Regions from separate parts of the Homo sapiens genome. Here region 2 is linked to region 1. The links are contacts of gene promoters, found by promoter capture Hi-C in blood cells and fetal thymus (Javierre and others, 2016). All regions are on one chromosome and are shown on one strand. The core of a region is centred on a gene start or on the middle of the fragment in contact, and the rest is flanking DNA. Distances in the headings are between cores, read along the strand shown.

Region 1 (4,429 bases), core at 1,203-3,702:
TTTGAGACAGGGTCTTGCTATGTTACTCAGGCTAGAGTGTAGTGGCACGATTACAGCTCAATGTAGCCTTGAACTACTGGGCTCAAATGATTTACCTCAGCCTCTGAGGTAGTTAGGACTATAGGCATGCGCCATCACACCTGACTACTTCTTAAATTTTCTGTAGAGACGCGGTTTCATTATGTTGCCCAGGCTGGTCTCAACCTCCTGGCCTCAAGTGATCCTCCTGTCTTGGCCTCCCAAAGCCCTGGGGTTACAGGCACCCTGAGCTACCCTGCTCAGCGGTAAACTGGTATTTTTAATAAGCCCCAACCAGACAATGCAACCCAGGAGAACCATCTCTTGGACGGAACCAGCAGAGCCTGAGAATCCAGCGGGGATGGCTCCCTAGAATGGGGTTCTGGTGAGCCCGGGAGTTGCGGGGGAGCGTAGGACTAGCTCAAAGCAGTACCCAAGGAAGAAGCTCTCATCACCGGCAAAGAAAAGGATGCATGACTCTGCCAGATGATCTGGGCCAAGGCTGTAGTGTGGCCCTGGATGAAGTAAGGCATCTGTGGCTTACGGCCTCTGCGGCAGAGAACTGCTTCCCGGTGAGCTCGTGGTGGGTGGAGGCGGGGAGGAAGAGTCGGTTCTGAGGATGGTGGCCTCCCACCGACGCAGCGGGGATCGGCCTCTGTCCCGCCCAGCCACTTGATTTCCAAGTTCTGCAGAGCTCTGTCCAAGGTCTCTTTCACTTTTTTCCTGAGCTCTCCCTTCGGGGTTAATCTCACCTCTTACGGAGGCTTCGAACACCATTTACATGCTGATGGCACCCAGATTTGCATCTCTGAGCCCCATCCCCACACCAAATTCCGGACCTGTTTCCCTATTAACTTTGGTCTGGAATATCCGGCAGACCTGAGATTTGCAACTCTGAGCCCCACCCCCACACCATCCGGCAGACCTCAGATTTAACATTTCCAAAGCTGAACTCACCCCGAAACTTGTTTGCCTTTCAGCAGTTCTTAGATAAATTATTAGCATCGCTCCTCATTCCCTCCCCCACCCCCCACCCCCGCAAACTGGAAACCTGGGGGTCATCTTATCCTTCTTCCTCTCCTTCCTACGTGCTAAATCACACCAAATCCCTTCCCTGGGCTGCATTCCCCTTGCTTTCAGTTCAAGTACATCTCCGGGCTTGACTAGTACAATACCCTCTTAATGAGAACCGTGACCCTGTCTTCCCCTCTGGGAGAAGCCATCCTCCAGTGGCAGGCGCCTGTAATCCCAGCTACTGGGGAGGCTGAGGCAGGAGAATCACCTGAACCCAGGAGGCGGAGGTTGCAGTGAGCCGAGATCGCGCCACTGCACTCCAGCCTGGCGACAGAGTGGGACTCCGTCTCAAAATAAATAAATAAATAAATATAAAATAAAAGAATGCAGACTAACACGTTCTTTGCAAACTTACTACAGGGTATGAAGAAAGTACACAAAGACAGGAGCAGCCTGTCTTCGAGGTGGCATCACTTCTGCATCCAGCCCAGGATTAAAACCCGGAGCAACTGGCAAGCGGAAATGTTAACGAAAAGGGCATCTGCGTAGCGTGCCAACCTGCCGTGCCACGTAAAGCACGGTCCAGTGACCCAAAACATTTCTGCTCCCAAATAACATTTGGAAAATGCTGACCTACTGCCTAGAAAAGTTCGATCGGCATTCCTGCACACTGCTGTTTTAGAGAGAAGCCCTAAACGATATCTGAAAGTATTTGGTTTATTTTCATCAGCAATGCTTTAGAATCTCGAAAGCCCAGAAAAAAGTTATTTCACGACGTGAAGCTCCCCCCTCGATGTCAATTCGAACACATCCAGGGTTGCGGCTGCCATGTTCGCTCGAACATGTGCAGGACAAACAATGCAACCAGCGGGGAACCGTAAACCTTTTTCCTCGACTTCCTACCACGCACATGAAGTGTTCAAGAAACTTTGCAGGACGTCTCCACATTTCACGAGGCTCCCGTGAACTCCGGAGCCGAGCTAAACAATAGGAAGGACAGATGCTGGGAGTCCCCAAGCATCTAACGCGCCGTTTGTGTTTTCAAAAAACCTCTGCCTGGCGCCCAGGCGGCTTTTCCTGGGCTCCTAGCCTCCTGTGCAAATTGTTCCCATGGTCATTGTCTTCCAGGACGCTCCGCTGCGCACTCGGGGAGCGGGGACAGCGCCCCGCAGAGCGCCGCGCGGTCGAGCCCGGCCAGGTGGCGGAAACGTTCCCGGCCCTTGCAGCGGGGCCCGGGAAAAAGGTGGCCCGGGCGCCAAGGGCGGCTGCCAATGCAACTCGCAACTTTTGAAATCAATCCTTTTTTGCATCATGCAACGGATGCCACCGCTCCTCGGGTTTGCAACCCCCCACCCCTCCCCCGAGACCAATCATTGCCGCGCTCGGGGCTGCACGGCGCCCCCGCCCCCTTCCCGGGCCGCACGCCGCCACCCAGCAGCCAGGGCCGCCTCTTAAAGGGAGGTGGCCGGCCTTAAAGGACCCCCGCGCGCCCAGCCGGCGGGAGCGCGGCGGCCCGGCTCCCGCAGGGCCGCGCCGAGGCAGGCGAGCCCCCGCGGCGCCCAGGCGCGGGCCCGGGCCCCCGCCGCCGCCGCCGCCGCCGGGCGCGGCATTTTTATTCAGGCGACGCTTAAGGGAGCCCGGCCGCGCCCGGTGCATTGTGGGAGCGGCCCGCGGCCCGTTTTCGGGAGGAGGCGGAGGGCGCAAAGCGAGCCGGTAAGCGGCGGGCCCGGCGCGGGGGGGAGGCGCAGGCTTAAAGGGGAATCTGGGTCCGCAGGCCCGCGGCGGCCGTTGCAAATCCCCCTCCGGGCCGCCCGGGACCGCCGGGGAGCCGCGCGCCGCCGGCCCCGCCAGCCCTGCCTGGAGAGGGGCAGCGCCGGGCTTGGTGGGGCCGCTTTAAAAAAGAAGCGCCGCCCGCGCCGCCGCCGCCGCCGCGCGGGGCCGGGGAAGGAGGGAGGGAGGGCGGGGAGGAGCGGAGGGGAGGGCGGCGGCGGCCACGCAGGGGTTAATTTTTTCGCCCGCCGACATTTTTGCGCGGCGGCGGCGGCGGCCCGTGCGCGCGGCGGGAGCGGCCGGCCTGGGGTCGCGGGGTGCCTCCGGGGCCTCCCCGCCTCCCCTTTTCTCCGCGCGGGCCCTGTCGACCCGGGGCGGGTGCGTCCCGGCGTCCTCCCCGGCTCCTGGGCCGCACGCGCGGTGCCCGCCGGCTCCCGCCGCCTCCCGCCGGCCCGAACAGGGATGGCCCGGCCGGGGCCCCGAGCTGCCGCCTCCGCCCCGCCGCCGGCCCGCAGCCCGGGCCTGCTGGGCCTTCCGAGGCGGCGGCGAGGGCCTGAGCCTGAGCCTGAGCCCGAAGGTGTCCCCGGGTTCCTTGCTCCCCTCCCCGGCCGCCTCCGACGCGGGCGTCCTGGAGAGCGCGCCCCATTGTGCGGGGCCGGCGGGGAGGTAGGTCCGGGGTTGGCGGGGCAGCGCGCCGGGCCCACCCCGCTGACCGGCTCCCCGGCTCCCCACGCTCGTTGGAAGAAAAAAAAAAACCAAACCATGGAAATGTGCCCGGGAAGGAAAGGGCTAAACGTTGCTTTAAATATTCATGCCATTGTTTTAAAGGCGTAAACATGTGGCTGCGGGGTCGCCGGGCACCGTCCCTTATTAATGCAAATGGATCCCCCTGGTTCCCTAATCACTGCACATTTCCCCCAGAACCCCCTCCCCCTTCCCATGCCCTCCAAAAATGTAAGAATCTAGTACTTTTTTCATTAGGATGTGAGGCTGATTTGTGTCCTTAGTACCATTTGGAATTTTAAATCTGAGCGCCTTCCTGATACAAGGTGTTTTAAACTTTTTTCCACCCTTAAAACTCTTGAGAAGATAGTAATTTAAAAGGAAGTGATAGCCACACAATTCCCCTCCCCACCTTTTTGGGAGCCAGGAGAGGAATAGATAGGAGGTAGGAAAATAACTGGATGCCTCGTGAGTTGGATTTTTTCTTTTTCTTTTTTTTTTCCTGGTAGGGGTGAGGCTGTGTTAAATGCGAGGTGTTTTTTGAGGAAAGGACTTTGTTGTTTTTGTTGAAAACGCCTTCCAAGTCAAAGTGGTATTCAAACTTTCCCATAACTCTAAGATGGCTTCAAAATTCTCGTCTCTTGTCACTTGCGGCCAGCGCCTGCTCTTTTTGGGCAGGGAGACTTCTTGGAATCGTGTTCGAAGGCTGACTCCTGCTCAGTTGTTACGTTTCCCACCGAAATCATTGCTCATCCCAAACCGTGTTTTTGTGAAGACGGTTTGGATTACTGCCCAAACTCGGGCTTCGTGAGATTTATATGAGCGATGTGCGTCCCAAGGGATGGAAAACTCTATAAATGGGAATTATGTTCTTAATCATAAATTTTATAGGGGAAACCGACCT
Region 2 (4,429 bases), core at 1,260-3,759, 470 kb before region 1:
GCTGGTCCCTGTGTTCTTGGTTGACAGACACTCTTCTCTGCTCTTCCTTGAACATCGAGCAAATGGAATAATTCAGTGTGCAGTGTCATGAAGATATCTAGTTTGAGTTGGTCCTGGTGTCATTTGGCCCCGTGGAAAGGTACCAATCTGCCAATGTGTCATTTGATCTTATAGAACATACCTCACCTCCCAGTGAGTGCACGGGCAGCTTTTATCAGAAATAGTGATTTATTACTCACTGCAGGACAAGATGGGGTCATCACAGAGTCTGCAGGGCAGGCTTTCTTTTAACAACAACAACAAAAAAATGGAAGTGGCAGACCAGATGGCCATGGAAGATGGAGCTTGGAATCCCAAGATGTTGCTTCGTTTATCATCCCCATATTTTCTATAAATATCTCAGAATTTGGGCTGCAGACTTGGCAGTCCTATCTGGCAGAGGCAGGTTGAGCACTGCCTGTCTTTTTCTGTTTTCTCCTTACCGAAACAGTTATCATTTCATTAATGCAGAGAGGCTTGCCAAGGGGAGCCACGCTAGACTCACAGTCCTGGTGACATTGCCCTGAGCAGGCTGGAGTCTGGGGGTTGCTCTATTCATCAGGAGGCCTCCCTAATGAACACCTGCCCGCCTCCCAGAGTCCCCCGGGGATCATGAATAGAGCAGGCTCCCCAGCCGGCTGGCTGGCTTGTGAGCACTTTGCATTTCTAGAGGAGCAATCATTATGTACGCCTGTCAAAGCCTTCCCATTGGGCATCATTCAAATGCATGGATGAGAAAGCCTCCCTCCCACATGGGTATCAGTCCCAACTTTTCAGAGAACACAGGGACCAGACTGCATCTTAGGAAAATATGGAAGAAACTATGTGGAAATAAGAAGATGACACCCAGGGAATAAAAGCATAAAGGGGAAGGAGAGGGACAAATGGGGAGACTAAAAGCATTGCTCCCAGGGAGACCTCACCCCTGGGTTAAATGGCAGAGTCACTTGGAAGGAGAGAGAGAAGGAGGGGAGAGAGAAGGAGCTATTAAAGGGAGCTGTGACTTTGTTGGTTTGGGGAGGAGTTGGGTGAGGAAGAAGAGGGCACAGATATAGGGTTTGGGAATAGGGACATGACATATCCTTTCCTGGGGACACAAGTATCTGTCACAGGCCCCTTCATGGCTGCCTGGAGCTGTGTGATCTGATTGAAACCCAGTGGCTCTCTGGCATCAGTGAGCATGCGACACCTGGTCCCATCTGGCTCTGTGCAGCACCGCAGTCTCTGCCTAGCAGATCTCTCCTTCAAACCAGCTCAAGAGGGTGTCCAGGTTCCATCCTGTCTCGTGGTAGAACAACTGCATATGCCACCCTTTATTCTGTCCCATTCTACCAATAGGAAACTTTCATTAGGCACCTACTGTGTGTCAGGGACTGTATTGGGGTGTAAGTCCACAAATGTCGATCAAATGTGATCCCTCCCTTCCAGGAACTTACTGTCTGGCAAAATTCTATTGCATTTAGAAAAGGTGGCTTGGCTTTTGACTTCAGGAGAGGCTGTTATTTGCTAGATCTGAACCCCAGAATTTAAAAGCAAGCAAAGCTTTGTTTAGGAGATCTATTGTACATCGTGGTTATTGTAGCTAATAACGATGTCTTCAATGCTTGAAAATTGCTGAGAGTAGTTTGGAAATGTTCTCGCTACAAAAATCGTAAGTATGATAGGTGATGGATATGTTTATTAGCTTGATGGGTCAGCCCACATGTGCATATACATGAAAACATCATGTTGTACATCACAAATAGATACATACATATAGATCTATGTGTGTACATATGTGTGTGTGTATGTATATATATATATATCGTTTCCATTTCTGTCAGTGACCACTTTTACCCCTTTCCTTGATGTACTTTGTTTCTTTCCTTCCTGCTTCGGATCTTCGAGACCTGCTCTGTCCCCTAAGTGTAACATTAGCGGGGGCAAAGGATGGAGGTGTGGCGGGCACTTCGGGGCCACCTCACCTATGCTGGTAACCAAGGTGCCCACCCTCGTCCTGGACAGGTTTCTGGCCTCCTCTAGGCTTTCCTTTCTGCTGCCGTCATGAAGTGGGCTGGGCAGATGGTCTCTCTGGCTCTTCCTATAATCCTGGGTGACCCATGCCCACCTGTGTGCCGCGGTTCAGTTCTCCCACTGATTCGCTGTGTGAATTTGGCGAGTTGCTTCTCTGGCTGTATCTCAGTTCCCTCTATCACATGGGGGCAATCCTGGTGTCTACTTCAGGTGTTTCTGGTTTCTAGGGCTGGCTGCATGAATTCATGTGAAGTAGCAGCTGCAGGCGGGGACAGGTGGGCAGTGTTGTTGGCAGCTTTGCTGTTCTGCTGCAGCGATGTGATGCCACTGTCACTCCTAGACTAGAGGTAAAGGATTTGTCTCATGTGCACGAATGGATCCCGGTTCAGGCTGGGCAGGGACCTCTGGGTAAAGAGATGCCACCTCTGGCAGGCGGGTCTCTGATCTTGGCTTCGGGGTCTCTCCTACCTGTTCTGGGTGCCTGAGAGCCAAGACAGTGCAACTCCATTGTTCTTCACACCCGTCTGCCTACAGGAAGTAGCCTCCCTGTGTCCCCTGCCACAGAACCCAGGGCTGTGCTGGAGAGGCAGGAAGGAAACCAGCCTTCCCAGCTAAGCAGCAGGGCGACAAGGAGGGGAGTCGCCGCCCAGACCTGCTGGCCACACAGTGGACAGAGCTGCACAGAGTCACCTCATGCACCCCCCGCAGCAGCTTCCCCTCCCCGGGAATAATGAGCAGCCGCTGAGCCATTGCTGGGCTCAGAGCCCCCATGGGGATGGAGAGGGACACACAGTGACAGCCCAGGCTTCAGACCCGGCAGCTTGCTCAGGCTCATTTATTCAAAGCTGCGCTCCTTCCCCTGCTCTTTCCCTCTGGGTTTTCCGAAAAGCTAACCCCGGCCCCTCCTGTCCAGAGAGATGGGGGCAGACGGGCCACGTTTCACAGTCACTCCCAGACAGCCCCTGTCTGCCATCCCACAGCTGCACCCACTCCTAAAGGGCAGGGAGCCACCCATCCAGCAGGTCCCGGGGTCCCGGGCAGAGTGGATGGGCAGGCAGTGCTGGGCACAGAGCGGCGGCTGTGGCTGTGCCATCCGGCCATGCGTGTCCAAACCCTGGCAGCTTAGCAGTCACTGGGGGCTCTGCAGTGACAAAGGGATTGTCAAAAAACACCCTTGGCGAAGAGCAGGAGCTGAGAGTGTCACTCTTCAGAGGAGACCGTGGTTCCTCCCAAAGCACAGATGGGAGTCACCTGATGGTTACTGCTTGTTTGCTGTTTGAATTTTTTTTTTTTTTTTGAGATACAATTAACTCAGAAGTGGCAACTCTTTTGACTTAGAATCTGTGAGATGCCCCAAGGGAATAGGTTAACAAGAAGAAGCTTAAGGGGCCTGCTTCACCATGGAGTGACCCAAGGTCGGCTGAGACCAAGGCCCGCCTGCCTTCCCAGCCCAGAGTGCCACAGGGACAGTGGAGAGAGAACACCAATGTCAATGCAGGCTTCGCACTGAGATCACTCATGTCACAACCAACCAGTGCTGAGTTCCCTTCAATTACACGGAAACGAGGTCTTCGGGGTTTCCATCTGAGGGTGTATGAGTTTCCTGTGTCTGCCATAACAAATAACCACAAACCTGATGGCTGGAAAATAACAGAAACTCACTCTCCCAAATTTCTGGAGGCAGCTGGAGGGGACAATCGCTTCCCCACCTCTTCCAGCTTCTAGTGACTGGGGTTCCTCGCCTGTGTCTTCATCACTCATCACTCAGGTCTCTGCCTCTGTCTTCTCTCCTGTATGTCTGTTTTTAAAAAACCCTCTGTATCTCTCTTATAAGGAGGCAATATATCCCAGGACCTTGGGAGGCCAAGGCAGGTGGATCCCTTGCGCTCAGGAGTTCGAGACCAGCCTGGCCAACATGTTGAAACGTCATCTCTACTAAAAACACAAAAAAATTAGCTGGGTGTGGTGGCACATGCCTATAATCCCAGCTACTTGGGTGGCTGAGGCATGAGAATTGCTTGAACCTGGGAGGTGGAGGTTGCAGTGAGCTGAGATCATGCCACTGCACTCCAGCCTGAGATCGTGCCACTGTACTCCAGCCCGCACTCCAGACCCCATCTCAGAAAAAAAAAAAAAAAAAAGGAGACAATATAATGGCACTTAGAGCCCACCAGGATTAGTTCCTCCTCCCAAGGATCACGTCTTTTGTGATGAAAGGTAATACTCACAGGTTCCAGTGACTGGGATGGGTACATATGTTTTTGGGGACCACCATTCAACCTGCTATAGAGTGTAACAAATCATGTCACACAAAGTTTACCACAACACAAGAGCACATGTGCCAAGTGTGACTAAGCTGCCTGTGTTGAGTGCTGTA

What was found. The method cuts DNA at HindIII sites, captures the fragments that hold promoters and counts their contacts. A CHiCAGO score of 5 or more calls a contact.
Region 2: a fragment that was not itself captured here is called in contact with the fragment with the promoter of SEPHS1 in region 1 in 1 of 17 cell types (neutrophils); the score reaches 5.3 in neutrophils.

The regions. Positions count from the first base shown.
Region 1 is chr10:13,346,316-13,350,744 of GRCh38, reverse strand. SEPHS1 (selenophosphate synthetase 1) reads left to right here and starts at 2,452. Exons shown (of 9, transcript NM_012247.5): 1 at 2,452-2,745. RefSeq lists enhancers at 685-1,476, 1,477-2,267 and silencers at 2,337-2,556, 2,687-3,516. The HindIII fragment of the contact is 15,925 bases long and covers 1-4,429 here.
Region 2 is chr10:13,819,464-13,823,892 of GRCh38, reverse strand. All of the region lies in intron 3 of FRMD4A (FERM domain containing 4A), which reads left to right. Among named protein-coding and RNA genes, the nearest start is that of FRMD4A-AS2, 170 kb to the left of the region's middle. The HindIII fragment of the contact is 1,851 bases long and covers 1,584-3,434 here.